Regions from separate parts of the Homo sapiens genome. Here all the other regions are linked to region 1. The links are contacts of gene promoters, found by promoter capture Hi-C in blood cells and fetal thymus (Javierre and others, 2016). All regions are on one chromosome and are shown on one strand. The core of a region is centred on a gene start or on the middle of the fragment in contact, and the rest is flanking DNA. Distances in the headings are between cores, read along the strand shown.

Region 1 (2,700 bases), core at 179-2,678:
GAAGGCTCGGCAGGGGAGGCTCTGGCCAGCCCACCAGGGCCTGTCCAGTTTCGTGGGGAGGGGAACTGCCGCACATGCCGCACACAAAAGGCGGAGGCTTTGACCAACATGCTGGGTGAGGGCTTGGAGGACCCAAAGGTGGCTCTTTCTTTGAAGACACACAGCAGCAATCTTAACCCTTAGAAGTGTCACAGAGCCTCATATGAGCTTTCAAGTAAGCTGTGGAAGTCGCGATTCCCAGGTAAGGGACGGGAAACTCCGGATGTCCTGCGAGCCCACACCCCAGATGGCACCGCCTGAAACCAGAATCCAGGTCCTCCACCCCCGATTGTTTCTCCTTCCTCTCATCTTACCAAGTCATGTGGGCGCCCCCACCCCCATCCCCGAGGCCTCAGTGCGACGGTGACCGCTCAGTCTTGGGGCCTGAGCTGCTGGAGACACACTGGAGCACAGCGGGGCCCAGCCCTCGGGCCTGTCTGAGGCTTTCCTCCGCCGTGACCACCGCCTCTCCAGGTGTACCAGCGTTGGTTAGGAACAGTAGGTGCTACTGGTCACAGTCACCAGATACTTCCCACGAGCCTCATCTTTATCCCCGACTCTGGCCGCCGGCGGGAAGCGGCGTGTCCGAGCGCACACCCCGTGGAGACTGACCCTAGGTCTGTTACTCCAAAGTCCCTGGTCTCTCCTTCCCCTTTCTCGCGGCCGCCTGCCTGGCACGGGACCCTGAGGCCGGAGCGGAGACCGCAAAACCCCTTGGGGCCGGCACCCCCTGCCTCCGCCTTGGCGCAGACGTGCCCATCTCTGGGACGGCCCCGAGCGCACGCAGCCGGCGGGCGACCCTCCTCCCAGAGACCTGCACGCTGCCCCCGGCTCCCAGCGTACCGCCACCCTCAACCCGACACACCCAAGTCCGCCCCAGCCACGCGCCAAGACGCTCACCTCCCGCAGCAGGCGCTCCAGGTGCGGCTCGGCCCAGGCGTCCAGGGCGCCTGGCGGCCCCGCGCGCCGCAGCAGCTCCCGCTCCTCCTCGAGCGCCGCCACCCGGCCCTGCAGCGCGGCCGCCTGGACACCCAGCAGCAGGCAGGCAGCCGCCGAGCCCACGGAGAGCAGCAGGCACAGCGCGCTCACCGCCCGGGACCCGGCCGTCGTCGCCGAGCGCCCTCCGCCGCCGCCGCCCGCCGCATTGCCCTTCCCCGCGTCGCCGCCGCCACCGGCGCGCTCGCCTGGGCCCATGGCGCGTTCGTCGCGCGTGGACTCTCCGAGGGGGCGGTGCTGCTGGGGCAGAGGCTGGGTGCGAGAGGAGCAGGCGGGACAGCCCGAGGCACGAGGTCCGCCGGGCGCGGGGGTTAGCCTCCGGGTAGCAGCGGATCGCCGCGCACGCCCCCTTCGCCGCAGCCAGCTCCTCCACAGCGGCCACTTTGGGCAGTTTCCTCTATGCAAATAGACCCTGCCAGAAAAGGAGCAGGGACCCACCCAGGGGAGGAGCGGCCGGGCTGGCCCCGCGCGGCGAGGGGGCGGGGGCGAGGAAGGAGCGAGCTCCTCGGAGCCACCCGTCGGCGCCGGGCTGATCCCACGCGCAGCGCGCACCTCTGCCCTCACCTAGCCCGGGCGCCGGCACCCGCCCCCGCACGCACCTCTGAGGCTTCCCCAGCCCAAGCCCGCACTGTGGACCCCAGAGGTCGGAGGGGAGCCCGGCGACACCGCGCCCCTTCTGCAGCCCACCCCTGGCTGGAGCACCCACCACTCGTGCCTTAGCACATTCCTCTAAACTTGTGAATTACCTTTCTGACACTTGTAAAAGTTCAAAACTTCAAATCCTGCAAAAAACTGAGTGGGTCTGTCCTCGGTGGTGGATTAGCGCCGCTTCGTGGCGGAAAGCGACCTCTGCGCACTCACATTTAGAGAGGCAGGGTCGAGATTGCGCCAAACAGAAATACGCCCCTTAGAATCTTCTCACGAGTTCTTAGCTGCCGGACTTCGGTGCGGGAAACAAAAATGGTAAGACTGTTTCTGGCCTGGAGAGGGCTTTTGAGAAAACTGAGACTATAACGAATGGGAAAGATTCAGAAAATGAACTTCAAGTCTTGTTCAACTGATGACTTAATTCTGTATTAGACGCACAACTTGGCCAAAAATTATGATCTAGTATGCACCACACTTAACCTGTACTGCGATTCTGCTGCAAATTTAAATCACAGGGCTGAGGCAAGAAGGCTGTGGCGTACAGCCTGGGTCCAGAGAACAGAATGAGTGGCACTAACAAGTCTTGGCAGGAAAGGGAAGAACTGCTGGAAGTCAGGCTGGGTTCAGATTCCTACCAGGCATATTCATGTCCTAAATGGGTCCCAAGTAACTCTTTCGCTAACTCCTGTAATACCTAAATGAAACAACAAACCAGCAGTTCAGATCTTTGTGATTTGAGTAACCCCCCAACCATTTTTTTTTAAGAAAAATAACGTTATATCCATCTTCCCTCTCACTCTGGATATCTTCTGGTTGTCTCATTTCTGTGGATACTCACCTTTTAGAACTGTTGAGTGCCTCTGGCTAACATGTTCCATCTCCTTCCCTTAATTCAGAGGGGAACCCCTGAGATGGCCGGGGGTTATGGTTGATAGACTTGGCTCTGTGCTAAAGTCTGGTGTATGCCCAATAGAATGAAAAGTTGGCCTCATTCTGAAAAGAGGCCAACACCCTCTT
Region 2 (2,700 bases), core at 156-2,655, 300 kb before region 1:
GGTGGGGAACGGACCGGACCGCTGGGTCACTTTGCTCAGAGGAAACAATGGAGAAGAGGGGGAGGAAACCACTCATCTACACCCCACCCTCTCCCCTCTGGACCTGTGAATACAGAGTAACCCGGGGTGAAGGGAACTGCGTCATGCCAGGAGTGGTTCTGTTAGTCTCCGGTCCTCCCGAGCCGGTACTGGTACAGCGAATAATGCCAAGATGCGGGGCTGAACTTTCCAGCGAAAGCCTGTGCTTCCCCAAGATGCTGGACGCCCAAAGGTCCGGGCTGCCGTGTGCAGGAGACGGGAGCCTGACCCTTGCCTAATCAGAAGAGCAGCTGGGGACTGCGGCAGGGCCCTAACCCCAGGTGTGCCATGGGATGAGGGTGGGTCCCAGCTGGTTTTCACATTTCATTCTTACTTCCGCAGAGTCTGAGAGGCCAGGCTGCTCATTGCTGGGGGAGCTGCCCGGACTGCCTGGGAGATCCCAAACTTGACTCAGCCCAGCACGGGGCCACTCCAGCATGAAGTCAATGTTCCCCAGAGTTACCACCAAGTCCTGGAGGGCTGGGTTTGTGACACATCATGTGCCTTCATCTCTGCATTCACAGAGCAGGAAATTGAAGCTCAGCGAAGGTGAGCACCTTCTCTTAAGGTCACTCAGCCGAGAGGAAGCAGAGTGGACCCCACGTCAAGTCTCCCTGGTGCTGGGGCTGGCCTCCTCTCCTCCGCTGCAGGACCGGGGACCACCGCTCTCTATCACCAGCCGTCCTGACTGCACAGATCTGTCCCGAATCAGCCAGCATTTCCCTCCCTGCATCTTCCTGCCCTGGAGGCACAAAATGAATCTGCCCCTCCCCTGACGGCCCTGCCAATCTCTTCTGCTGCTGGGCTCCCCCTACTCTTTCTGACATCCCAGGACCTCCGGATGCTGCTGCCACGACCCTCAACCCCCGCACAGGACCTGACAGCGGCACAGCCACGCTGCGTCTTGCTGCTGACGTGGTGCTCACTTGGCCGGGGCTAGGACATCTATCCCAGGAATGCGCTAGCTTTTGGGTTAATTTTAAGAGATCTGCCAAGGGATGACACCACAGCCAAACTGGAACCAGCCAGTCTCCTGTTATCGAGTGATGACGAGGAGCGGTGGCTGGGACAGGGAGTCCTCTGCCCACTGGGAAGAGGCCCAGCCCTCCAGTGGAGCACGCCACAGTGCGGGGGCTGGACTGTTGGCTCTTGGCTGGACTTACTGAAGAAGCAGTGGCAGGTGGATTCAGTGCCACCCAGACACCTGCTCGAGGTGCTCTGCCTTGCCTCCAGGGCAGCCCTGGAGATCTGTGCAGCCTTTACCTCCCCAGAGCTCACGCTAATCGCCTCCACAGAAAGACCACGGCTGCTGAGGAGCAGAAGAGACAGGAGCGCAGACAGAGTTAAATCAAGGCTCAGGGAAAGAATATTGGTTTAAGAGAAAAGGGTGAAGAGAGCAAAAAAATAAATGACAAATTACCGGGTAGCCATCTCGTCCTGATTGCCCCTGTGGTAATTAATATGTCATTAATAATCAGAGTTTCGGCAGAAACCATATGGCAACACTTAGAGCTCAATCAGGGCCCAGACCCACACCCGCCCCCCGACAGCTGGTTGGTGACTTCCTCTGCAGCGGGAGGACTCAAGGGCTCCAGGGGTCTTGGGGGCAGAGCAGCCCTTTCCTGCCTCAGAGGGCCAGGCTGGAGGGACCAAGAGCCTCAGGGCTTCATCGGGGCTCCGGGCACAGTCACATGTGTGCCCTCCCCACGCTGGCCAGGCATAGGGTAAATGCCACGTGGGGACGTGGGGTTCTGGAGGGTGCAGCCACAACCACACGACCAACCAGGAACTGAAAATGCTCCTTAAACTAGGCCTGGAAGAGAGCCTGTTTCCTCTCAGTTGCCACTGGGATGGGGTGAACCAAGAAAGAGAGCCTTAGAAGCCAGGAATATCGGGGGGCGTTCACTGTGGCTGCATGCTTCTCTGCCCCCTAGTTCCAGACCCTGGAGCAGTGACCACCCTGCCTGTGTTCCACACTTGGGCACCCATCTCCCAGGTCAGACCCTTCCAGGTTGCAGCTTGAGAATTTCTGCATTTGTTTAATTCATTTACTATTTTAACTGCCAAGTTAAAAAAGAAACAAAAAAAACACTCTATAGCCCCCGGCGTTAGGTACTTCAGCAAGTTCACACACGCTAGCCTCCCTGAGACAGCCAGGAAGAACTCAGCTGCCAAACATCGCTTGAAGCCAATAAATCAACACAATCCTGCTGTCTTGCTTGGCTCACGGTGGGGCTGCATGCACCGAGAAGCCCAGATTCCGAAGGGCACTGATCGGGAAACCAATCATGGTACACGGAAGTAAAAAATAAAAGGGCTCATCTGAAAGGAATTCCTTGAGAAGGCTGATTTTGGCTCTGACTGTCAATGTGCTTCTTGAGTGGATTAACTGGGATTTACCGGGCTCTGAAAAACTGACAGCATGAATCAAAGGCAGGCACATCCTTTGCCCTGGAGAATGAATGGGATTTCTAGGACCACTTGCAATCCCCTGCATTCAAACCTGCCTCTGGCCGGCCAGGAGAAGTTCAAGGGAGCTGCCCAGTGCTTCCCTCATACCCTTCACACCCCTCACAAATGCAGTGACATTTTCCTCCTGCTCCAGTGCCATGCCCTCACCAG
Region 3 (2,700 bases), core at 189-2,688, 330 kb before region 1:
CCTGCACATGGACGCTGACATCAGCTTTACTCAAAACTGCCAAAACCTGGAAGCAGCCAACATGTCCTTCAGTCGGTGAGTGGGTAAATAAACTGTGGCTTATCATTCAATAAATAATAAACCCAGACATGGACTATCATTCAGTGCTAGAAAGGAATGAGCTGTCAAGCCATGAAAAGACATGGATGAAAGGTCAATGTGTATTACTAAGTGAAAGGAGCCAATCTGAAAAGGCCACACACTGTCTGATTCCAACTAGATGACACTCTGGGAAAGGCAAAACTATGGAGACAGTGAAAAGAGATCAGTGGTGGCCGGGCACGGTGGCTCATGCCTGTAATCCTAGCACTTTGGGAGGCTGAGGTGGGTGGATCACCTGAGGTCAGAAGTTCGAGGCCAGCCTGACCAACATGGTGAAACCCCATCTCTACTAAAAATACAAAATTAGCCAGGTGTGGTGGCGCACGCCTGTAATCCCAGGTACTTGAGAGGCTGAAGCAGAAGAATCACTTGAAACCAGGAGGCAGAGGTTGCAGTGGGCTGAGATTGTGCCATTGCACTCCAGCCTGGGCGACAAGAGCAAGACTCCATCTCAAAAAAAAAGATAAAAGATCAGTGGTGTCAGGGGCTAGGGAGAACGAGGGATGAACAGGCGGAGAACAGAGCATGTTTAGGGCAGGGTAAATACTCCATGACACCACAGTGGTGGATACTTGTCAACACACACTTGTCCGAATCCAGAGTGTACCACAGCAAGAGTGAACCCTAATGTAAACGACGGCATCTGGGTGATGGTGGTCTGTCCACACAGGTGGGTCATCTGTAGCAAGTGGGGGATGTCCACAGCGGGGGAGGGGGATATGGAAATTCTGTACTTTCTGTTTAGTTTTGTTGTGAAACAAAAACTGTTCTAAAAATAAAATCTATTTGGGCCAGGTACAGTGGCTTACACCTGTAATCCCAGCACTTTGGGAGGCTGAGGTGGGAGGATAACCTGAGGTCAGGAGTTCGAGACTAGCCTGGCCAACATGGTGAAACCCCATTTCTCCTAAAAATACAAAAAATTAGCTGGGCATGGTGGCACACACCTGTTGTCCCAGCTACTCAGGAGGCTGAGGCAGGAGAATTGTTTGAACCCAGGAGGTGGAGGCTGCAGTGAGCTGTGATCGTGCCACTGCATTCCAGCCTAGGCGACAGTGAGACTCTGCCTCAAAAGAATAGAAAATTAAAAAAAAAAAGGAAAATCTATTTGAAACCAAAAGGCTAATGTGTTTTATGATTCAACCCTCGCAACTCAGTGTGAAAAAGGCAGGAAAGGTTTACTGTGCCTCCATTTAACAGATGACTAAACTGAGGCCCAGAGAGATGCAGTAACTTGCCCATGGTCCAGGAATTTGATCTCCTGACCCTGCTGCCTTGGCTTCACTAGGGGTGGGGGGAAGAGACAGGAAGTGGAGGTGGTGGTGGGGGAGTCCATCCCACCAGATCTGGGGAGGGGCATGGGGAATAAGGAGTACTCACCTTGGGCCCTGGGGGTCCCTTTGGGCCCTGGAACAAGAGAAGAGAAGGTGTTAAATGTCATACTGGAGGCTGCTCCTGGGCCTGTCCTTCTTAGCATCCTGGCTTTGTAAAAGGTGACACCAATCCCAGAGAGCAGGAGGCTGGGCTGCCGTCAGAAGCAGGCTGGAGCTGCCCACCCTGGGCCTGACTCCTCAAGCCTGGGACAGCTTCTGCATTAGGGCTCAGGTGGTGGCAAGTGGACCGCAGCCTCCGCACAGGAATGTGGAGCTACTGGAATCCCCCTGGCTGGTGCCTCACCCAGCCATTTCCCCAGGGTGGCTGGAGGGGCAGGTGCACAGGGGTCCACACACATGCAGACACGTACATGCAGAGGCGCGCGCACACACATAAACATGTGCGCGTGACCCTGCTGTCGGCGTGTGTGGGAAAGGGGCTTCCAGGTCTGGGAACCATGATCCTAGCAGCCCAGGCCTCTGGAATGCCCTGGATACTGACCATCTCGCCGTCTTGTCCGGGCTCTCCTTTGGGGCCCTGCGGAAGTGTGAGGGGACAGCAGTGAAGGATGCAGGATGTCACATTGAACTGAGCCCAAATCTCAGGCCAGACCCCGGGCTGGGGCTCTAAGTACATTATCTTATCTCATTCTCGCCAAACCTGAAGAGCGAGTATCACTGTCCCCACTCCACAGATGAGAATGTTAGGCTGGGGAAGCCACTGGCCCGGTGTGACAAGTAATGGATGAGCCAACTGAGCAGCTGTCCTGGGGGAATCTGGCAGCAGTTTGGTGGGGATCCATTTGACTGGGGGGGGACCCTGGTGGCAGTCTGGTGGTGGCATGGGCTCCACAATGAAGGGAAGGACAGGCTGGGGATTCTGGGTTAGGGAAAGGGGTAGTAGGATGGGGCCTGGCCTCTAGACTTTGGAGACCCTGGGAGGAAAGCTGAGGCTGAGATACTATTGGGGAGCATGAGGGGAGGGGCTGATAAAGGTCTGCAGAGACAGTGTCCCCAGAAGGGTCTCAGGCTCAGGGTTGAGTCAGGATTGGGACTGGGATTGCAACTAAGGTCAGCTTAGGGTCTCTGGGTCTGTTTGAAGTTAGAGTTGGGTTGGGAGTCAGGGTCAGAGTCTGTAAGGTTCAGAGTTAGGGTCTGAATTGGGGGCGTAGACCAGGATTTGGGA
Region 4 (2,700 bases), core at 119-2,618, 370 kb before region 1:
GCCCTGCAAAGAGGTACCTGTGGTGTCTCCTACTCCAGGAAGCAACTTGTTTCAAGAAGAAAATACCTTGATACCAAGTAGGCAGCCTCTTCAGTTGCTGGTGTCCTTGTGGCCTCATCTTTGATCAGATCCACACCAATGAAGAGCCCAACACCCCTGCAAGGGAAGGTGACGACATCTCAGGAGGCCAGGCCTGAGGGGCCAGGGTGCTGGCCTCAGCCTCTGGGCTCCTACCTGTGCCTCCTGAGGGGGCTGAGTGCAGGAGGCACCTTCAGAAGGTGGTGAGAATAGTTTCAGGGAATAACTGGGCTGGGAGAGATCTTTGGTGTGGACAGAGGAGAGAGGCTCAGGGGTAGCTAGGGATCAGGTCATGTCCTAGCTTTCTCCTCCCCAGGAGAGCCGTTTTGGGCAATAGCACCTCTCAGTGTCTCAGTTCCTCTTGAGAGCGGACATAACCCCACCATCCCAGGTTGTTAGGAGGTGAAGAAAATGGTACCACACTGGGCCTTGGCAGGTGGGTGGTGACTGCTGCCCCCAGAGCCTCACCTGACATCCCCGACGATGGGATGTTTGATTTTTTGCTGCCCGAGGAGCTGCATCAGGAAGCTGCCTACACTGGTGGCATGATCCTGGAGCTGCTCCTTCTCCAAGACATTCAGGACGGCCAGCCCCACAGCGCAGGACACTGGGCTGCCCCCAAACTGAGCCAGGGACAAAGAACATGTCAGATGCCCTGGCAGAGTGGGCCATGCCCCAGAGTGAGGGTGAGGCAGAAGAACTGCCACACGTGTTCCAAGGCCAGTGGCAAGAGCAGAGGCCCCAAACCCCTTAGGGCGCACAGTCCTCAGCAGTAGTAAGTGGGGTTCAACATGGGCTGTCCTGGCTTTCCAGGAGCTAATGTGACTGCAACTCAGGTCAGGTATCCCTGAAGTACAGTAGGAGCCCCTAGAAGATACAGAATCAGAGGAGAGGGTGTCCTGTTTGTTCCCACAGGGCTAGTCTTTACCAAGAGAGGCTTTAAGGCCCCATCTCCTGGGCCCAGACCCAGAGGACTGGATTAGGCACTTCCTCCTCCAGGGAGAGTGAGCGCAGCACGCCAAGCCCCACCCAGGAAAAGCTGCTTCACACCCCTGGAGGGCTCTGGCTCCTTTCCCTCGCCCACCCTGTCCTCATCCTGCAGGTATCTGAGTGGAGACCTGTGTTTTAGAGGATCACGAGCAAGGTGTCTCCTGCAAACCACGTTTTTTGTTTCGTTTTTAAACTACATCTTTAAAAACATCAGCTTTGTTGAGGTATAATTTATATATAAACTGTGTTTAAAGTATAAAGTTCAACGTGAGGTGACAAATGTATGTACCTGTGTAACCTCCCTCGCAGTGAAGTTGCAGAACATTTTCATCACTTCCTGTGCAACCGTCCCGCTACTACTGGACCCAGGCATCCACTGATCTGCTTTCTGTTACTATGAGATGGCTACAGGGGGCTTTGAAAGGCTGTGACGTACTCCTGGGAGTCTAGAAGGCCATTCATATGCATAGGGATGTGCTTATGCCCAGTGCTGTGTGCATGCTCAGGTAAGATCTAGAAAGCCCTAAGCTCTCACCACTGGCTACCTTGAGCCTCTGCAGAATGAGGAAGTAAAGTCTAAGGCAGTTATAAACTCTTGGCTGAGTGACTTACGGGTTCCAGGCAATTAAGGAGATCTAATGGTTAGAGGACCACTAAGCTAATCAAGCAGAGACTATAGTGGCCACACATGACAAAGAACACAACTTTACATAATTAGTTCAGAAAAGACATTAAACAAGAAAAAGGAACCACCATGGGGAGGGAGGAGAATATGATTTCCACAGTTGCCACATTATGTTACTTAAAATGTCCAGCTTTTAACAAAATTCTGAAACATGCAAAGAAGCATGGCCCAGACACGGGAGGAAAAAAAGCAATCAATGCAAACTGCGCCCGAGGAAGCTGACACTGACCTTACTGGATAAAGACTTTAAATCAGATGTTACAAACATGTTAGCTGGGTGCAGTGGCCCATGCCTGTAATCCCAGCACTTTGGGAGGCCAAGATGGGTGAGTTGCCTAAGGTGAGGAGTTCGAGACCAGCCTGGGCAGCATGGTGAAACCCCATCTCTACAAAAAATAAAAATAGCCAGGCGTGGTGGCACATGTGTGTACTCCCAGCTGCTTGCGGGGTGAGGCAGGAGGATCACTTGAGCTCCAGAGGCTGAAGCTGCAGTGAGCCAAGACTCCAGCCTGGGCAACAGAGTGAGACCCTGTATCCAAACAAGCAAACAGAAACAACCCCAAAACCAAATATGTTAAGAGACCTAAAGGAAACTATACTTAAAAAATTGAAAGCAAAGCATGAAAATGATGTCTTACCAAAACAGAGTCTAATGATAGATAAATTATTAAAAATCAATCAGAAAATTTGAAGTTGATAAGCACAATAAATGAAATGAAGCATTTACTAGAGAGGCTCAACAGATTTTTTTTTTTTTTTTGAGACAGTCTCGCTGTCACCCAGGATGGAGTGCAGTGGTGCGATCTCAGCAAACTGCAGCTGCCGCCTCCCAGGTTCAGGCGATTCTGGTGCTTCAGCCTCCCAACTAGCTGGGACTATAGGTGCATGCCACCACATCTGGCTAATTTTTGTATTTTTAGTAGAGACGGAGTTTCACTGTGTTGGCC
Region 5 (2,700 bases), core at 42-2,541, 350 kb after region 1:
TAGTACAATTAAAACTCCATGAGTGCAGGGTTTTCACAGCTATTTCTCCAGCCCCTGGACTCGGGGTTCTTACTCTCTGGAGCCCAGTTTGAGTGACCTGGAGTCACGAGGGAGGCGAGAGAGAAGGGTTACCAGCGATACTCACACAACATCCTCCCCCTCTGGTGCTTTGCCGGGTCCCTGGGAACTGCTACAGGGGCTGCACAGCGGCTGACCCTGGCCTTGTCAAGCACTTGACACATAAGTGCTCCAAAGTGTCTATGGAATGAAATCTTCAATAAAACTCCAAACAGAATGCTGTAGTCACTGACACTGCTTCCTAAAACGTGGCCAACAATTCCGTATGTGACAAACAGGTCACATTCTTGATTTTTTTTAACGACCAACAAAGTTAAAACCCTCTCATCTTTCCTTCCTGAGCTCCATGCAAATTACCTATTCAAAAGCAACTAAGTATCTCCAGTTGGATATTCTTAGGCATCATCTCATCCTTGCCAGTCTCTGCAAAATATGGTCGACAAAAATAAATACCACCTTCTTAAATACCACCCAGCTGTCCAAGATGGAGACTTCCTGGCATCCAGGCGCCTTCCTCTCCCTCGTCCCCACCTCTGAGAAGTTCCCAAGCACGAAGTGTTCTGCGTCCCGAACATTCCAGGGGCCGCCAGCCACCATGGGCTCTGTCCTGAGGTGCCAAGCAGGACATCCCTGCCCGACATCCTTGTCCTCCCGCACCGCACACGCGTTAGTGGCTGTGGCGTCGCCACCCCAGCACACGCTGGCCCGCCCGCAGTGCCAGGCTGGAAGTGTCGGGCGCTTGCCAGGCCAAGGGGCAATTCTGTTGCCTTCCAGGCCTTTTCGGCGCGGTCCCAGTCAGGAACGCGCCCTGTCGCCTCCCACTCCGTCTTCCGGACCCTCCCGATCCTCTCTCGTCAGCGATCGGGCGTCGCTCCCCTGGACTAACCTCCCTTGCCCCATCTTCAGCTTTTCGCTGATCTGCATCTTCCTGCGCCTTAGTGCAAGGCAGAGACCTGGTTCTAAAGCGAACGGAACGGAACCGATTCTGTAAGTTGCAATGAGCGCGCTGAGGTCGGCGTGGAGGGGTCTCTGGGAAAGGTAGTTTCCGCGCCTAAAGCGCCGGGGCCGGGCCCTGTTCCCGCAGGCGCAAGGCAGCACTGTCTCCGCCGATTGTCCCTCTGGGAAGTGGAGTCTGGCCGGCGGAACTGCAGCAGCCCTGAGACTTGTGGGAATTCGGCCCAAGGGTTCCCAGGGCAACGCGCAAGCGCAGTTCGGCTCCCGGCTGCAGACTCCAGCTCATTGTGTTCTGACTGCGATGTGGCGCTTGCGATCTCTCGCCGCCGGCAGAGGCTCCTCGAAGAGCGACACGGGGCTGACCAGGCACGGTGGTCAAAGCCGCAGAGGGAGAGCGGGAGCGGTCGTGAGGTCGTCTGGGGAGAAGGGCGGAGGCAAAGCCGAGGAGGTGCGGGTTGTGGTCCATTCTGGAGGACGCTGATCGAATGCCCCAAACTTCCCGGAATGTATGTCTGAGATTTGATCCCAGAGAGGGAGGACGGCCAGGGGTGGTCATCCTGGGCTGAGGGTCGAGTCTGTGAGTGCCTGTGGAGGAGATGGAGCCAGGGCCTCTGGCATGTGTCTTGGAGCGGACTCCGAGAAGCCCAGGGTTTCCTCTCAGGTGATAGATACACGCCTGGCGTGGTTCCGAGTCCTGCGCCAGGAACTCGCCAAGGCCGGAGGCAGCCGCTGCGCAGCCCCTGCCACAGCCCCCGAGGGACCTGGCGAAGCGGCAGGGGCGGGACGGGGCTGTGTGTGATTAGGGTTCCTAACCCTTCCCTCTCCCCTCCCGCCCAGCTCACACAAACGCCGCTTCTGCCCACCCGTGACTCCAGGCCACCCAGACTGGGCCCCAGAGAGTGAGAACACTGAGGCCAGAGAAGGGTTTGCCTGAGAGGCTTCGACAGTGAAGAGCCTTCTTAGCCTCCTTTCTGAGGAGGAAGAAGACCACCCTCCTTTTCCTCTTCTCCTGTCACTGCCAGATAAGGCAGCTGTTCCAAAGCCGCAGAGGGAGAGCGGAGCGGTCTTCCAATCCAGTCGAACCCAGACACTGCCCTCCGTTGCCTCTCCCCAGCGCTCCCACCTTTTCGGGTACATCCTGGTGGGTTCTGGAGCTGAATAACTTGTTAAAGAGATAATTCTCGGCCGAGTGCGGCGGCTCACGCCTGTAATCCCAGTACTTTGGGAGGCCGAGGCGAGCCGATCACCTGAGGTCCGGAGTTCGAGACCAGTCCGACCAACATGGTGAAATCCCGGTCTCTACTAAAAATATAAAAAATTAGCCGGGCGTGGTGGCGGGTGCGTGTAATCCCAGCTACTCCGGAGACTGGGGCGGGAGAATCGCTTGAACCCGGAAGGCGGAGGTTGCAGTGAGCCAAGATCGTGCCACTGCACTCCAGCCTAGGTGACAGAGCGAGACTCTGTCTCAAACAAACAAACAAAAAAAGAATTCTCTTGAGATCGCTCAGTGAGGCTGAAGGGAAAGACCAGAGGGTGGGTGGAAGGCATGAGAACTGGACCTGGAGCAGGCTTTCTGCAGGGAAAAGTCAATGTATAGTACCCTCAGAAGGAGGAGAGAGAATGGGGAGCAAACAGGAACCAAAACACTCACTGCTTGGGGTACTGGAG

The links. Contacts are between HindIII fragments. The CHiCAGO score rates a contact against its expected background, and 5 or more counts as called.
Region 2: a fragment that was not itself captured here is called in contact with the fragment with the promoter of COL23A1 in region 1 in 15 of 17 cell types (M2 macrophages, M0 macrophages, erythroblasts and 12 more); the score reaches 79.5 in M2 macrophages.
Region 3: a fragment that was not itself captured here is called in contact with the fragment with the promoter of COL23A1 in region 1 in 10 of 17 cell types (M0 macrophages, M1 macrophages, M2 macrophages and 7 more); the score reaches 22.2 in M0 macrophages.
Region 4: a fragment that was not itself captured here is called in contact with the fragment with the promoter of COL23A1 in region 1 in 1 of 17 cell types (M0 macrophages); the score reaches 5.2 in M0 macrophages.
Region 5: a contact is called between the fragment with the promoter of ZNF454 here and the fragment with the promoter of COL23A1 in region 1, in 4 of 17 cell types (monocytes, endothelial precursors, erythroblasts and 1 more). The highest score is 5.8, in monocytes.

Annotation. Positions count from the first base shown.
Region 1 is chr5:178,588,965-178,591,664 of GRCh38, forward strand. COL23A1 (collagen type XXIII alpha 1 chain) reads right to left here and starts at 1,429. Exons shown (of 29, transcript NM_173465.4): 1 at 940-1,429. The coding sequence starts at 1,233. RefSeq lists an enhancer at 1-775 and a silencer at 1,431-1,630. The HindIII fragment of the contact is 4,652 bases long and covers 1-2,700 here.
Region 2 is chr5:178,286,826-178,289,525 of GRCh38, forward strand. COL23A1 (collagen type XXIII alpha 1 chain) reads right to left here. Exons shown (of 29, transcript NM_173465.4): 5 at 1,499-1,525. Among named protein-coding and RNA genes, the nearest start is that of PHYKPL, 55 kb to the left of the region's middle. RefSeq lists enhancers at 1-356, 357-901. The HindIII fragment of the contact is 9,200 bases long and covers 1-2,700 here.
Region 3 is chr5:178,260,201-178,262,900 of GRCh38, forward strand. COL23A1 (collagen type XXIII alpha 1 chain) reads right to left here. Exons shown (of 29, transcript NM_173465.4): 10 at 2,017-2,052; 11 at 1,522-1,548. Among named protein-coding and RNA genes, the nearest start is that of PHYKPL, 29 kb to the left of the region's middle. The HindIII fragment of the contact is 4,641 bases long and covers 1-2,700 here.
Region 4 is chr5:178,214,730-178,217,429 of GRCh38, forward strand. It overlaps PHYKPL (5-phosphohydroxy-L-lysine phospho-lyase), which reads right to left. Exons shown (of 13, transcript NM_153373.4): 9 at 547-701; 10 at 67-156. Among named protein-coding and RNA genes, the nearest start is that of HNRNPAB, 12 kb to the left of the region's middle. The HindIII fragment of the contact is 9,930 bases long and covers 1-2,700 here.
Region 5 is chr5:178,939,907-178,942,606 of GRCh38, forward strand. ZNF454 (zinc finger protein 454) reads left to right here and starts at 1,292. Exons shown (of 5, transcript NM_001178089.3): 1 at 1,292-1,538. It overlaps ZNF454-DT (ZNF454 divergent transcript), which reads right to left and starts at 1,109. Exons shown (of 1, transcript NR_186409.1): 1 at 1-1,109. The HindIII fragment of the contact is 10,957 bases long and covers 1-2,700 here.